Linked DNA regions of Homo sapiens: regions 1 and 2 are each linked to region 3. Evidence: promoter capture Hi-C in 16 types of primary human blood cells and fetal thymus (Javierre and others, 2016). All regions are on one chromosome and are shown on one strand. The core of a region is centred on a gene start or on the middle of the fragment in contact, and the rest is flanking DNA. Distances in the headings are between cores, read along the strand shown.

What was found. The method cuts DNA at HindIII sites, captures the fragments that hold promoters and counts their contacts. A CHiCAGO score of 5 or more calls a contact.
Region 1: a contact is called between the fragment with the promoter of GYS2 here and the fragment with the promoter of ETNK1 in region 3, in 3 of 17 cell types (activated CD4 T cells, total CD4 T cells and non-activated CD4 T cells). The highest score is 8.0, in activated CD4 T cells.
Region 2: a fragment that was not itself captured here is called in contact with the fragment with the promoter of ETNK1 in region 3 in 1 of 17 cell types (activated CD4 T cells); the score reaches 6.7 in activated CD4 T cells.

The regions. Positions count from the first base shown.
Region 1 is chr12:21,601,486-21,606,414 of GRCh38, forward strand. It overlaps GYS2 (glycogen synthase 2), which reads right to left and starts at 3,362. Exons shown (of 16, transcript NM_021957.4): 1 at 2,987-3,362. The coding sequence starts at 3,107. The HindIII fragment of the contact is 12,472 bases long and covers 1-4,132 here.
Region 2 is chr12:21,456,250-21,460,651 of GRCh38, forward strand. All of the region lies in intron 7 of PYROXD1 (pyridine nucleotide-disulphide oxidoreductase domain 1), which reads left to right. Among named protein-coding and RNA genes, the nearest start is that of PYROXD1, 21 kb to the left of the region's middle. The HindIII fragment of the contact is 2,267 bases long and covers 858-3,124 here.
Region 3 is chr12:22,623,581-22,627,819 of GRCh38, forward strand. ETNK1 (ethanolamine kinase 1) reads left to right here and starts at 1,591. Exons shown (of 8, transcript NM_018638.5): 1 at 1,591-2,006. The coding sequence starts at 1,851. ETNK1-DT (ETNK1 divergent transcript) reads right to left here and starts at 1,466. Exons shown (of 4, transcript NR_135030.1): 1 at 1,093-1,466. RefSeq lists enhancers at 1,236-1,305, 1,836-2,005, 2,025-2,714. The HindIII fragment of the contact is 2,136 bases long and covers 1,356-3,491 here.

The DNA of each region.
Region 1 (4,929 bases), core at 2,112-4,611, 1.0 Mb before region 3:
TCGAACAGAGAACACTTCTGCATCTTGGCATATATAGTTCTCTCACATAGAACGCTTTCTCCCCTTTAGCTATTTATCCTTCAAGTGTCAGCTCAAACATCTCATCATTAGAGAGGTTTTTCCCAAACCTCTAGGTAACTAGGTTAGAAACCACTCCCCATTCCACGGTACACTGTATAGTCTTAGGACACCTGGTTCCCTTAGTCTCACACTCATCACATTTGACTGTATTGTATGTTCAATGTCTACCTTCTACAAATTTGTCAATTCTTGAAGATTAAGAATCAGTTCTGTATTCTTAACTCTATCTCCCTCGCCTCTCAGTGCCTGATACCTAATAGACACTTGATGAATCCTTACTGAATAATAAAATGGATTAATGAATAAAAGCAATAAATTTCAAGGTTAATATTAATAAATTAAAAAGGTTATTTTGAAGTCTGAGAATTAGTACCCAAAACTAACTGTGACTCTCTCATCTGTTATGTTTTTCACGTTTCCATTGTTCATGGGCAAAATTCTGGCAGCAAGGGATTCTTCTCCTAAGAAACCTTTTGTTTTCTTGGATGTGAATACATTTCCTTGTTTGCCAGAAAACATGGTAAGATAACTGGAGAGTATAACATTCATTTTATTCATGAAGAAACTGTTATTCAGTTTAAGGGGTTCTTTTTCAGAAAGTTTCAGAAATCCAAGACCTTTGACTGCAAGTACTGTGTTCTTTCATCTATAGGACATTTCCTTTGAAAACTGAGGTTTTAATATTTAATTCTTACATAATAGTAAAAAAGTGAATTGGCCTTGGAAAAGACCTAAATCCTGGTCCTAACTCTGCCATTTGCTTGATCATTAAATACCTCTACGAATCAATTTGCTCTATGAACTGGAGGAGTGGGATTCATGATCTCTAAGATACCTCATATCACTACTATGAAATGCAGGGAAGTAAAAATTCAAATCATTAAATTTAAAGAAACTATAGTGGCAATGTATTATTAGGAATAAACACAATAATTATCCATCTATATGAAAATCTCAAACCATACCAGGCTATGATAATATTAAAATAAAGATACATTGAAGATGATATCAACTTGTGTAAATCACATTGTGGGGACCTCTCCACAAAAACACTTCCCTTCCCCTTGAAAGGGAAATGATAGAAAATAAGTATTAAAGGCAGCTTAGGGGTTGAAAAACAAATTTTTTCAAAAAAAAATCCATTGAGCATTTTCTATGTACCAGGCACTGTTCTAGACCCTGAGATCAACACACATGCTACTGATTATAAGATCCATAAAATAACTTAGTTTCACTGGCGTGTTCCCAGTGCCCAGGTAACAGTGCTCCATTAATGTTTGTTAAATGATGAGAAAAGAGGAAAGCAGAAGGGGCTCTGCTCAGGTGCAGGAACTTGTGCAGAGATCTTCTGGACTGATTCCCAGTGCTAACAAGTCCCTTCCAGTTTTATCCACCAATAAGCTATGTCCTTGAGCTCCTGCCCACTCTCTAGAGAAAACTTTTATTTCAAGGCATACTCCGGGATTCACATGTGATAGAGATGGTTCTGTTCCCAGGAACTTTGGGCATATTTAAAAACTGGACTGGAAAAATTTGTGACTAGAAAAAGGACATTAAAAACACATGCTCATTTCAGGATAAAGATCTCTGAGGAAAAGAATACAAAATAATTTAAAAAGAAACAACAGAAACAGGTACACATAAAATACTTCACTTCTCTGTAATAAGGTTTCTGTCCTCCTAGATTCTTTCTCACTAAACTACAGAGAATAAGACCGTGCTTTGTTCTCTTATATGCATTCTGTCCACTTCTACATAGGCAAAATTGACTTTTAATTTTGATTTTATGAATGCATACACACGAGAACTTTGAACAGTTAGTATAAGGTGAATTCTGATTTTTCAGAATGCATGCCATATATAATGCATTTAATTTTGAGATTATGCTGGCTCTGATTAGCCAAAAGAAGGAAGTAATATATCACATTCTGGTTATTATTTCAGATCCTTTAGATTACTGTAATAGACATGAAATAGTAAACACAAAATGAAAAATAAATGTGTTATATATCACAACACATGACATAATTTCAGATCGTTTAAATCACACAAGTCATCACTGCCATTTACCCAGCAATCAGTTGGCTTGATTCTTCAAGATCTTGAGGAACTCAGCCTTCAAAACCATGACTTTTTCTTTGCTAATGTTCCTTCAATAGTCTTGACACTTTTAAACTAGAGAGTATAAACCCACAAGGAATTGTTTTATAATTTTACAGATGTCTTTATTTTCAAAATCATTTACATTGTGGTTCTCTACCTTGCCTTCTCTTACCCAGCACAGATGAGGTTATACCTCACTCGCAAATTGTTTTATCAATTTGATTTTCTTTATTTTATAATTCCTACATAAGCATAGCATTGAAGAAAAAAATTACTTTCATTCTGAAAGGAGCACAGTATTTTGCCTTTTGAGAAGCTCCTGAATTAAAACATTAATTCCAAGCTAATTGTGAATATGAAACATTCTTAAGCATTTCATATAATTACTAACAGAATGTAGAGTTGAGGTTTCCAACTGGTTCTAATCACATATACATCTTCCTAAAATAAAATGTTTAATTATACTATTTTGCTGAGAAAAATTTTAAAACAAAAAATGTAAATATTAACTTTTTATTTCTATGTTGTCATAATATGGATTTTAAATTTTAATTTAAATGCACATTCCATGGCAATGGCTAATATTTTCAACTTTCTCCCTCTTCAACACATACACAAGTCTGTATTCATAGCCTGTTGTAATAGACAAGGTTAAATGTAGCCTAAATATATATTCCGTTTAAATGCTTTCCTCACTCACTAGCAATTGGTTATCACTAGAGAGTTATCTGTGAAATCTTACTCTACATTCCTCAGTCACCTAGTGAAGGTGTACTGATCCACCTTCAGGAGCAGTACAAACCTTTATTGGTCACTTCCCAAGCAACTTCAAAGAGCAGTAACTCCTCCACAGGAAGTTCTTCGACTTCCCACTGGGGAAGCCCACCCAGGGATGTTACAGAGAGGGATCGGCCTCGAAGCATTCTTCTTACAGTCCTCCGAGACTCCTTTGAATTCCTGTTTCAATTAGTTGTAATCCCAGGAGAAGAGAACTTACAGGCACAAAAGTTAGAGTTGGTAGAGTTACCAGGCTTTGGTAGCTTCTCTTGGGAATAAACTAGTAGCATGAAATCTTATGTGCTTCCCACAGAATTCCTGGTGGAAGGAGGAATTCTTCCTCCTCTTTCTCGTCTTTCTGGGCAGGTATTGTGAGGACGGTATCTGCCCTGTCAGTATCTACCCAAACAATCCAGAGCTGTCAACAGAAAAACCCTCTGATTCAGGACATAGGTAAGCACTTCCTGGGATAGGCAGGGCATGACCCAAGTTCAGCCTTTTAGCCCTTGTCCTTTTGACCAGACTCCTAGATTCATACAGTTACCAATGCTTATTTCATCATTTCCAAAGTGATACAATATTGGCAACTCCCCTCATTAAGTTTGCAGGCCTCCTTAGATTACATGTAGACTGATTGGGACATATTTTTATGCTTTAAATCCCTTTGGATTTCCTAAATATTCTTCTTTCTTTTGATTCCTATTTCTAGAGCTTTTAAAAAATATTCCTAGTTATTTTATTCTACACTTACAAATTGAATTTTGGTGATAGCCAGAGATCTTGAGCCCCCTTTTCTCAATTACTTTTCTTAAAACTTTCCCTATAAAAAAGCATAAATTTGAGTATGTCTTTGGGTGTAACATGAAAAAAAACATAATTTTGACTGGTCAATAATCATCAGTCAATAATTTTAATGAGGTAGTAAAAATAAATCTTTGTCATGTTTGTACATTTCCTTCAAATATTATCAAATTGATAAAGAATAATTCAGTCAATGTAAATGTTCAAACATGGGAAGAAAAATCATCAGGATCAGACTGCAGATAAATGGCATATGTTTGCTTTTCCCTTGTGTTTCTATGTTTGTAAATATATATGTTCCAATTTATTTACACACCCATACACATATATCCTATATTGTACCTACAGAGAGTTGGTGCATTCACAAGCAAGCTTAATTTTGAGCCATCTTTACAGATGTAGCTAAAATCAATATTTTTACATTATTATTCTCTAAAGCAGCAGAACTGAAGCTCATACAAAATATCCTTTAAGTTAGAATTACAATCAGAATTGTAATTTGTTACTTGATAATACTATTTTAGCACCTTTTATTAGGTTTTAAATTATTTTCTATATACTTGGTCTTATAGACTTACACTTATTTTAATGACTCAAGATGGGCAGAACCACATTTCATTATATTACATTAATAAATCTATGTAAGCCAAATAGATTAAATATGTCAGCTTGATGTGGTAGTACACACCTGTTGTTCCAGCTACTCAGGAGGCTGAGGGGGATGAATCACTTGAGCCCAGGAGTTTAAGGCCAACCTGAACAACCACTCTCTTAAAAAATAAAATAAAATAAAAAATTAATTAAAACAAAAATAAATAAATGTCATCTATGATTTTGTGACACAGTTGATTCTTATCTTTGTCCAGAAAAGTACATTTAAGTACATAGTTTGTTATCCATTTGTTTGCGTTGTGAGAAAAAGATTATATGGCTAATAAAAAAAATCAAGTACTAAAATAGAAAACATATGATCCCAAATGATCAAAATGATTGTCTCCTTTATAAAATGGTTTGCTTATGTTCACATAACCTCTGAGAGTCCTGCAAGTGCACATTCCAGTAAAACCAAATCTAAGGACATGTTGACAGGAGTGAGAATGGGATGACAGTGATAGAGTTTCACGTTTGCAGTTTTCTGTTCCAGGAGCCTTGAGATTGGTTCATCCA
Region 2 (4,402 bases), core at 741-3,240, 1.2 Mb before region 3:
CCATTTGGCCACCAAAGAAAACTGAATGTCAAAGCATCGAAGACTGGATCTCAGCCTACGTTTTAACTCTTGAGGTGTGATACTGTAATATATATACAGTCATACCTTGGAGTATTGCAGGTTCAGTCCCAGACCATCACAGGAAATGATATACCACAATAAAGTGAGCCACACGAATTTTTCAGTTTCCCAGTGCCTGCAAAAGTTATGTTTATAACATACTGCAGTCTATTAAATGTGCATTAGCATTGTGTCTAAAAATACAATGCACATAACGTTAATTTAAAGATACTTTATTGCTTAATATGCTAACAATCATCTGAGCCTTCAGCAAATCATAATCTTTTTTTGGTGGAAAGTTTTGCCTCGGTATTGGTGGCTGATGACTCATCAGGGTGGTGCTTGCTGAAGGTTTGGGTGGCTGTGGCAATTTCTTAAAATAACAAGTTTGCCCCATCAATTGACTCTTCCTCTCGTGAAAGACTTCTCTGTAGCGTGCGAAGCTGTTTTATAGCATTTTGCCCAGAGTAGAAGTTCTTTCAAAAGTCAATTCTCTCAAACTCTGCTACTGCTTTACCAAGTATATGTAATATTTTAAATCCTTCATCATTTCAGCAATACTCACAGCATCCTCACCAGAAGTAAACTCCATCTCAGATAACTACGTTCTTTGCTCATCCATGAGAAACAACAACTCATCTTTTCAAATTTTATCATGAGATTGCAGCAATGTAGTCTCATCTTCAGGATTCATTTCTAATTACAGTTCTTTTGTTATTTCCACCATATCTGCCTTTCTCCATTGAAATCTTGAATCCCTCAAAGTCATCCATGAAGGTTGGAGTAAACTTCTTTCAAGCTTTTGTTAATGTTGATATTTTGACTTACTCCCTTGAATCATGAATGTTCTTAATAACATCTAGAATGGTGAATTCTTTCCAGAAGGTTTTCAATGTACTTTTCCCAGATCCATCAGATGCATCACTATCTGTGGCAGCTATAGCCTTATGAAATGCATTTCTTTAATAAGACTTGAAAGTAAGAATTACTCCTGGATCCATGGGCTGCAGAATGGATATTGTATTAGCAGGCATGAAAACAACATTCATCTCCTTGTGCATCTCTGTCTGAGTTCTTGGGTGACCAAATGCCTTGTCAATGAGTGTAGTATTTTGAAATGAATCTTTTTTTTTTTTTTTCTGAGCAGTAGGTCTCAATGGTGGGCTTCAAATATTCAGTAAACTATGTAAACAGATGTGCTGTGTATTACTCCATTCTCACAGTATATAAAGAAATACCTGAGAGTAGGTAATATTTATAAAGAAAAGAGGTTTAATTGGCTCATGGTCCCACGGGCTGTACAGGAAGCATGACTGGGGAGGCCTCAGGAAACTTTCAATCACGGGGGAAGGGGAATTATGCACTTCTTACATGGCCAGAGCAAGAGGAAGAGAGAGAAGGGGGCTGGTGCCACACACCTTTAAACAACCAGATCTCATGAGAACTCTAACATGAAAACAGCACTAAGGATGGTGCTAAACTATTAGAAACTGTCCCCATGATCCAGTCACCTCCCACCAGGCCGTACCTCCAACATTGGGGATTACAATTTGATATGAGATTTGGGTGGAGAACCAGGCCCAAACCATATAATGCTGTCATCCAGGCTTTGTTGTTCCATTTACAGAGGACAGGCAGGGTAGATGTAGTATAGTTCTTAAGGGCCCTAGAACTTTCACAGTGGTAAATAGGCATTGGCTTCAACTTCAAGTCACCAGTTACATTATCCCCTAACAGGAGAGTCTGCCTGTCCTTTGAAGCCAGGCATTGACTTCTCCTCTATAGTTGTGAAGGTCCTAGATAGCATCTTTTTCCACTGGAAGGCTGTTTCATGTACACTGAAAATCTACTGTTTAGTGTAGCCACATTCATCAGTTATCAATTGTATATTTTTGTTGTAGAGATGGCTTCTTTACTTAAACATCATGAACCAACCTCTACTAGCTTCAGCCTTTTCTTCTGCAGCTTCCTCACTTCTCTCAGCCTTTACAGAATTGAAAACAGTTAGGGGCTTACTCTGGGTTAGGCTTTGGCCTAAGGGAATGTTGTGGCTGATTTGATCTTCTCTCCACACCACTAAAACTTTCTCCATGTCAGCAAGAAGACTGTTTCGCTTTCTCATCATTCATGTGTTCATTGGAATACCACTTTAGATTTACTTCAAGAATGTTTCCTTTGCATTCACAATTTGGCCATCTGTTCAGGGCAAGAGGCCTGGCTTTCCATGTGCCTTCCTCAATAACCCTAATAATCATTGCTACCTTTTGATTTAAAGTGAGAGATGTGTGATCCTTACTTTCACTTGAACACTTAGAGGCCACTACAGAGTAACTGATTGCCCTGGTTTCAATATTCTTGTGTCTCCGGGAATAAGGAGGCCCAAGGAGAGGGAGAGACATAGGACAACAGCTGGTTGATGGAGCAGTCAGAACACAGAACATTTATCGATTAAGTTCACTGTGTTAGATGGGTGTGGTTCATGACACCCCAAGACAATTACAGTAGTACATCAAAGATTACTAATCACAGATCACCATAAAAGATCTAATAATGATGAAAACTGAAATATTGCAAGAATTACCAAAATGTGACAGAGACACAAAGTGAGCACATGCTATTGGAAAAATGGCACTGATAAGACTTGCTTGATGTGGGTTTGTCACAAACCTTCAATTTGTAAAAAACACACTATCTGCAAAACAGTAGTGAAGCACAATAAAATGTTGTGTCTGCAGTTTTCTGGCACACAACTCCTAAAATTTTTGGCATCTCCAAAGTGATGTGTCCTTTTGTATGCTAACGAGTTGACTGGTTAGCCCCTAGGTGGCTTCAGAATGGGGACTGGTCACAGGAAAGACCAAGACATGATTAGAGTTTAGACTTTCCAACCTACAGGAAGGGAAAGAGGTTGAAGGTTAAGCCAATCACTAGCAGCCAGTAATTTAATCAGTCACCTACATAACACAGTTTCCATGAAAACCCAAAAGGACTGGGTTTGGAGAGCTTCTGGATAGCTGAACATGTGGAAGTTGCTAGAGGGTGGTCTATCTGGAGAGGGCATAGAAGCTTCATGCCCCTTCTTATATGCTTTGCCTTATGTATTTCTTCATCTGTTTCTTCGTGACATCCTTGATAATAAACCAGTAAATGTAAGTAAAGTGTTTCCCCAAATTCTGTGAGATATTCTAATAAATTAATTGAACCTAAGAAAGGGGCTCGTGGGAGCCCCTTGATTTATGGTTGGTTAGTCAGACCAACTGGTAAAACACCCGGGGCATGCAATTGGTATTGGAAGTGGAAGACAGTCTTGTGAGATTGATCCCTCAACATGTGGGACCTGATGCTATCTCCAGGTAGATAATAACATCAGAACTGAATTGAATTAGAGGACAGCCAGATGGTGTCCTGTGCAGAATTAATTGCTTGCTTAGTGTGTAGAAAACACCCCACACACATTTGGTCACAGAAGTATTCTGTGTTGTGAGACTATAGTAGGAGAAACTGAGTTTGTTTTTTCCTATATCCTCAGATCAGGGATAGAGCTTTCTATACCCAGACTACAGTGAATACTCCTGTCCTATTTTAAATTAATCTTTTCTCAAAGGTCACTTCAGATGCATGCAGTAAACTTACAAAAGTTATTAGATGGATTGGAAATACACACTTAATACCCTAATTGGATAAGGAGATGATTTGCTTTTCCTCATTTTGTTAGATATTTTGATTTTTTAATAGTTGTTAAAGGGCTGTGAAATCTAAATGCTGTAAGAAGCATGCATGCAGTCCTTCGTTACTTTGTGTGATTTCTTTAGAGCATTGGTTTTTGGCTTTCAGTAGGTAGGAGGGGAGCTGGCTGCACGGTGTATCTAATTTTTGTGATGGAAATTACACAAAGTCCCTTCTTCTTGCACCTTCAGATCCTAATATTATATTTTTAACCTGAGAACTTCAACAGTTTAATTCAATAAGCATTTATTGAGTATTTACTACCTACGTGGGACTTTATTAATGTTCAGGGATACGACAGTAAGTCAGAACTGACCTGAAGAAAATTTTATAGTCCATAACTGTTGTCATTTTTTAAATTTTTATTTATTTATTTATTTATTTATTTTATTTATTTATTTTTTTTGAGACAGAGTCTCGCTCTGTCACCCAAGCTGGAGTGCTGTGGTATGATCTTGGCTCGCTGCAACCTCTGCCTCCCGGGTTCAAGCGAGTCTCCTGCCTCAGCCTCCCGAGTAGCTGGGACTACAGGCGCACACCACCAGGCCTGGCTAATTTTTTAATTTTAGTAGAGACAGGGTTTCACCATATAGGCCAGGCTAGTCTTGAACTCCTG
Region 3 (4,239 bases), core at 341-2,840:
ATTTTCAATTAAATTGTTTTACAGTTACATAGTTTTAAAATTCTTAAAATGTCAACTGCTTAATAAAAAATACAATTTATACAAAAATACAAGAGATACTATCTGAAATGTGAAAGTAGTAGTATATTTATGATTTCTCCCCAAAGTGGAAGGAACACACACTCTAATGTTTCTTGTAGAAAATTATGCCTAAATCTGGCAGGGCGCGGTGGCTCACGCCTGTAATCCCAGCACTTTGCGAGGCCGAGGTGGGTGGATCACCTGAGGTCAGGAGTTCGAGACCAGCCTGGCCAACATGGTGAAACCCATCTCTACTAAAGATACAAAAATTTGCTGGGCGTGGTGGCACGCGCCGGTAATCCCAGCTACTCGAGAGGCTGAAGCAGGAGAATCCCTTAAACCCGGGAGGCGGAGGTTGCAGTGGGCCAAGATCGCGCCATTGCACTCCAGCCTGGGCGACAGAGTGAGGCTCCGTCTCAAAAACAAAACAAAAAAAAACAGAAACAAAAAACAAACAAAAAAACCACTAAATTTGAAAAATGTTAAATCAACTTCTTTGCTGTATTATAAAGCTCCATTTCCACCCCTCTTTTTAGTTTAGGAAGTTTACCGTTATCGGTGAAGTAATTATTTTGTTAATTACAAAGGTAAGTAGGTTCTTTCTGAACAATCAGGATGTAAACTTAATGCTAGTGAAGTAATTAAACATTTTGAATGTTAATTAAACTCAGTCCAGTTAAGGGTTTTATTTACTACTAACAAACGTATTCACCGTGTGCTAAGTGCTGCAGGGAATCCCAGCCCGTTTTCCTCCATCTAAAAGGAAAATTAGGAGGTCCCAATACTTTACTTGTAGATTTTCCAGTTTCTACCATTCCCTGTAAGGCACTGAGACGCAAGATTTCAAGGCCCACTCGGGGTACCCTGGCATGGACATCGAGTCGTTCTAGCGCTGAGCTTCAAAACTATTCCTTTCCTTCCCTTTCTTCTTCATACCAGACTCTAATCTGTTCTCCCTAGCTTCGAATTATTCACTGTATGGTCGAACATCTTACTCCACAAATAACCTCTGAAGTGTTGCAGTTGTCTTACCCAAATACCTGAACTCAGCTTGTCCCGAGTACTGCGATCCCGCGTACTGCTAATGGGAATATAGTTAACCCAACTAGTATGAGGTCCCCAGTACACAGCAGCTCCAAGATCAAGGCGACCGAGTAACACTGCTTGCCTAGACTCAGGCCAAGTTCGGAGAGTGATCCTGGGGTTATTTTAGAACGTGTCCCTTGCTTCCCAGAAAAATTCAGTCGTTAACTCAAGTCCAGATGCCCAATGACCATTCGGATAAGGTGAGCTAAAGCTTCAATGCCTTGAGGGGCTTGGCAGGGCTCGGGCTCATCCCGGAGAAGCAGCCCCGCTTTCCAGACTAGCAGTTCCCAGGGATGGGTGTGTGCTAATCGCAGGCCAACAAGCCCAGCGCGGTACAGAGGTCCCATTGTGACCGGAGGCGAGAAACCCCGCCTCGGCACCCTGACGCAGCGCAGGACCCGCCCCGCGCGTGACGCCAGCGTCAGGCCAGCCCCGGCATGCTCTGCGGCCGCCCGCGGTCCAGCTCCGACAACAGGAATTTTCTCCGAGAGCGGGCCGGGCTCAGTTCAGCTGCTGTCCAGACCCGGATCGGCAACAGTGCCGCCTCCAGACGTTCTCCTGCCGCTCGCCCGCCCGTCCCAGCGCCCCCAGCCCTCCCGCGAGGGCGCCCCGGGACGGAAGGATCCACCAGTCTGTCGGCGCCCGCCGTTCTCGTGGTCGCCGTCGCCGTCGTCGTGGTGGTAGTCTCCGCCGTCGCCTGGGCCATGGCCAATTACATCCACGTCCCTCCCGGCTCCCCGGAGGTGCCCAAGCTGAACGTCACCGTTCAGGATCAGGAGGAGCATCGCTGCCGGGAGGGGGCCCTGAGCCTCCTGCAACACCTGCGGCCTCACTGGGACCCCCAGGAGGTGACCCTGCAGGTAACGCCCACACCTCAGCTCTGGGTCTCTTATGCCCCTCACGCGGCTCTGGGGGTCCTCACCACAATCGCCTCTGTCCCACGATGACCGAGGAGGACCTAGGGCAACATCTCCTTAAGTCTATTGGGAAGTGACCCTGTATTTCCCCTCACACCTAGGAGGGTCACTCCCCCTTCCCGTCGCAGTTGCTCTTTGAGATTGACCTGAGGCACATTTTCTCTTTCTAGAAGCCGCTGCGTAAGTGACGGACCCATCCACGGGGGGAGATTCCTGCTGATAGTTGCCCCTCCTCCCACTCCCCAGTCCACGGTCACTGCAAAATGAACCTTTCCACTCCCCTTGCACGGGGTCCTCGTCTACCTCCTCCCCTCCCACCAGTAATGCAGTCATTAATCCTCTCTGATCTTTCCTTCCTCTCCCCTCCCCCTGCGATGTGCTTTCATTGATGCCTCACACTGCGTTTTGTCTTCCCAAACCCTAGCGTACTCAATTCCCAAAGTAATGACCACGACCATGCATCGCTAGGTCGGTTCTTAGGCAGCACCACACACATTGTTTTGTTTGAGTCGATATTTCTGAATTATTAAAGTCGTCTTACTGAAATTAATACCTGATACTAGAAGGAGCAGTGGCTTGTGACTGTTTCCTTTTCATGAGACACCGTGTTGATAGAGAAAAAATTGGGAGGAAAAAAATCCCTGAGACTCTAGGAGTTTTCTAATAAGTTGGAAGTTATGATTTCCACTACGTGATTTTTTTTGAATACTAATCTGTTTTTAGCTTTAGTTTCAGGAACTAGATACAAAAATAGATCTCTTTTTCTCCTTTTCCCTTGCAAACAAAAAAAAACAGTAATTTTCAAGATTGGGATATTTGGGATTTGTTCTAAATCTGAGCAATAATGTAAGAACATTCATTTGAATTAGCCAAATCATCTGCCTCGTTTTGATGACTAATTTATTCACCAATATTTGTTGATTTATTTGCTAAATTCTTCGCTAAACTAGCCAGCCACCCACACAAAGATGAATAAAACATGAGCAGTGCCTAGGGCCCAGAACAGTTCCTGACACTTGGGTTTTCATGTGTTAGTTTCAGTTCTTATTACCTAGAAGAGTTTTTAAGCAGATTATTTTAAAGGACCCGTATGTTTTGGAGAAGAAACTTGTTAGACAACAAATTTTGAAATTTAAGGGAGTATTTGTTAGCCGAGAATATAGGAAATAGTGAATCCAAAGTGATTTTTATGTCATTTAAAAAATATATTTCCTTTAAAGGAAATGTGTCTTCCAAATTGAAATTCAGTACTTGTTTAGTTTATCAATTTGTTTGTATTTTATTATATAAGACTCTAAAATTTATTAAGATGATTTGTTTTCTGGCAGTCACTTATACATAAAACATTATTAATTAAAAAGTGCTACTTCCTGGTAAACTCTAGTGTTGGCAGATCAGTTACTTTTAAGCAGTGACTTTAAAGTTTAAAGCTTTGAAGACTGGAATTTCCTTTGATGTATTTGTCTGTAGAATAGTAATAATAGCTACTGTGGGGTTAGTTAAATTATTTTTTTTTTATCTTAGTCGCCCGAACAACCATATTAGGTAGGCACTATCATTTTAGGTGAAACTCAGTGAAGTAAGCCAGGATGTAGGTAAAAAAGGGCAAAATGTAGTGACATTAAACTGTTTTTGCTTGTTGGAAAGTAACTACGTGTGTTTAAATCTTGGTTTCTTGTAGCAACTTTTAACCTAAAGACCTTTGGGTTTATAATCCGAATTTTTAATATTTGTAAGTGCAGGTAAATACTACCATTTATTTTTCCCTAAGATGATTATTAGTTAGAAATACATTCCCTCCATGTGCAAGCAAAGCTTTGGTCTAGAAGCTGTCCTAAAAGCATCTGCTAAGCTGAATTGATGATTATTCACCTTTCAACTCAGTAGATCTGGCTCCTTGCATTCTAGGTCATTGCAAACACTACTTTCATAATGGTTCAGAATTTCTTTAGTAAATCTCAAAGGAAATATTTTCTTTTGAGATTTTACTGTATTTCCCTTGAAATAGATAAGAATCATACCTCACATTTCAGAGGAAGTATGTATTATATAGTCGACAGAGTATAATGTAATTTTAGAGCAGTCGAGTATCAGTAATGTAGCCTGTTTTTTTCTCAGTTTTTTTCTAACATTTTTGTATGTTTAAGATATACTTTAAATGTACTTTAGAAACTTA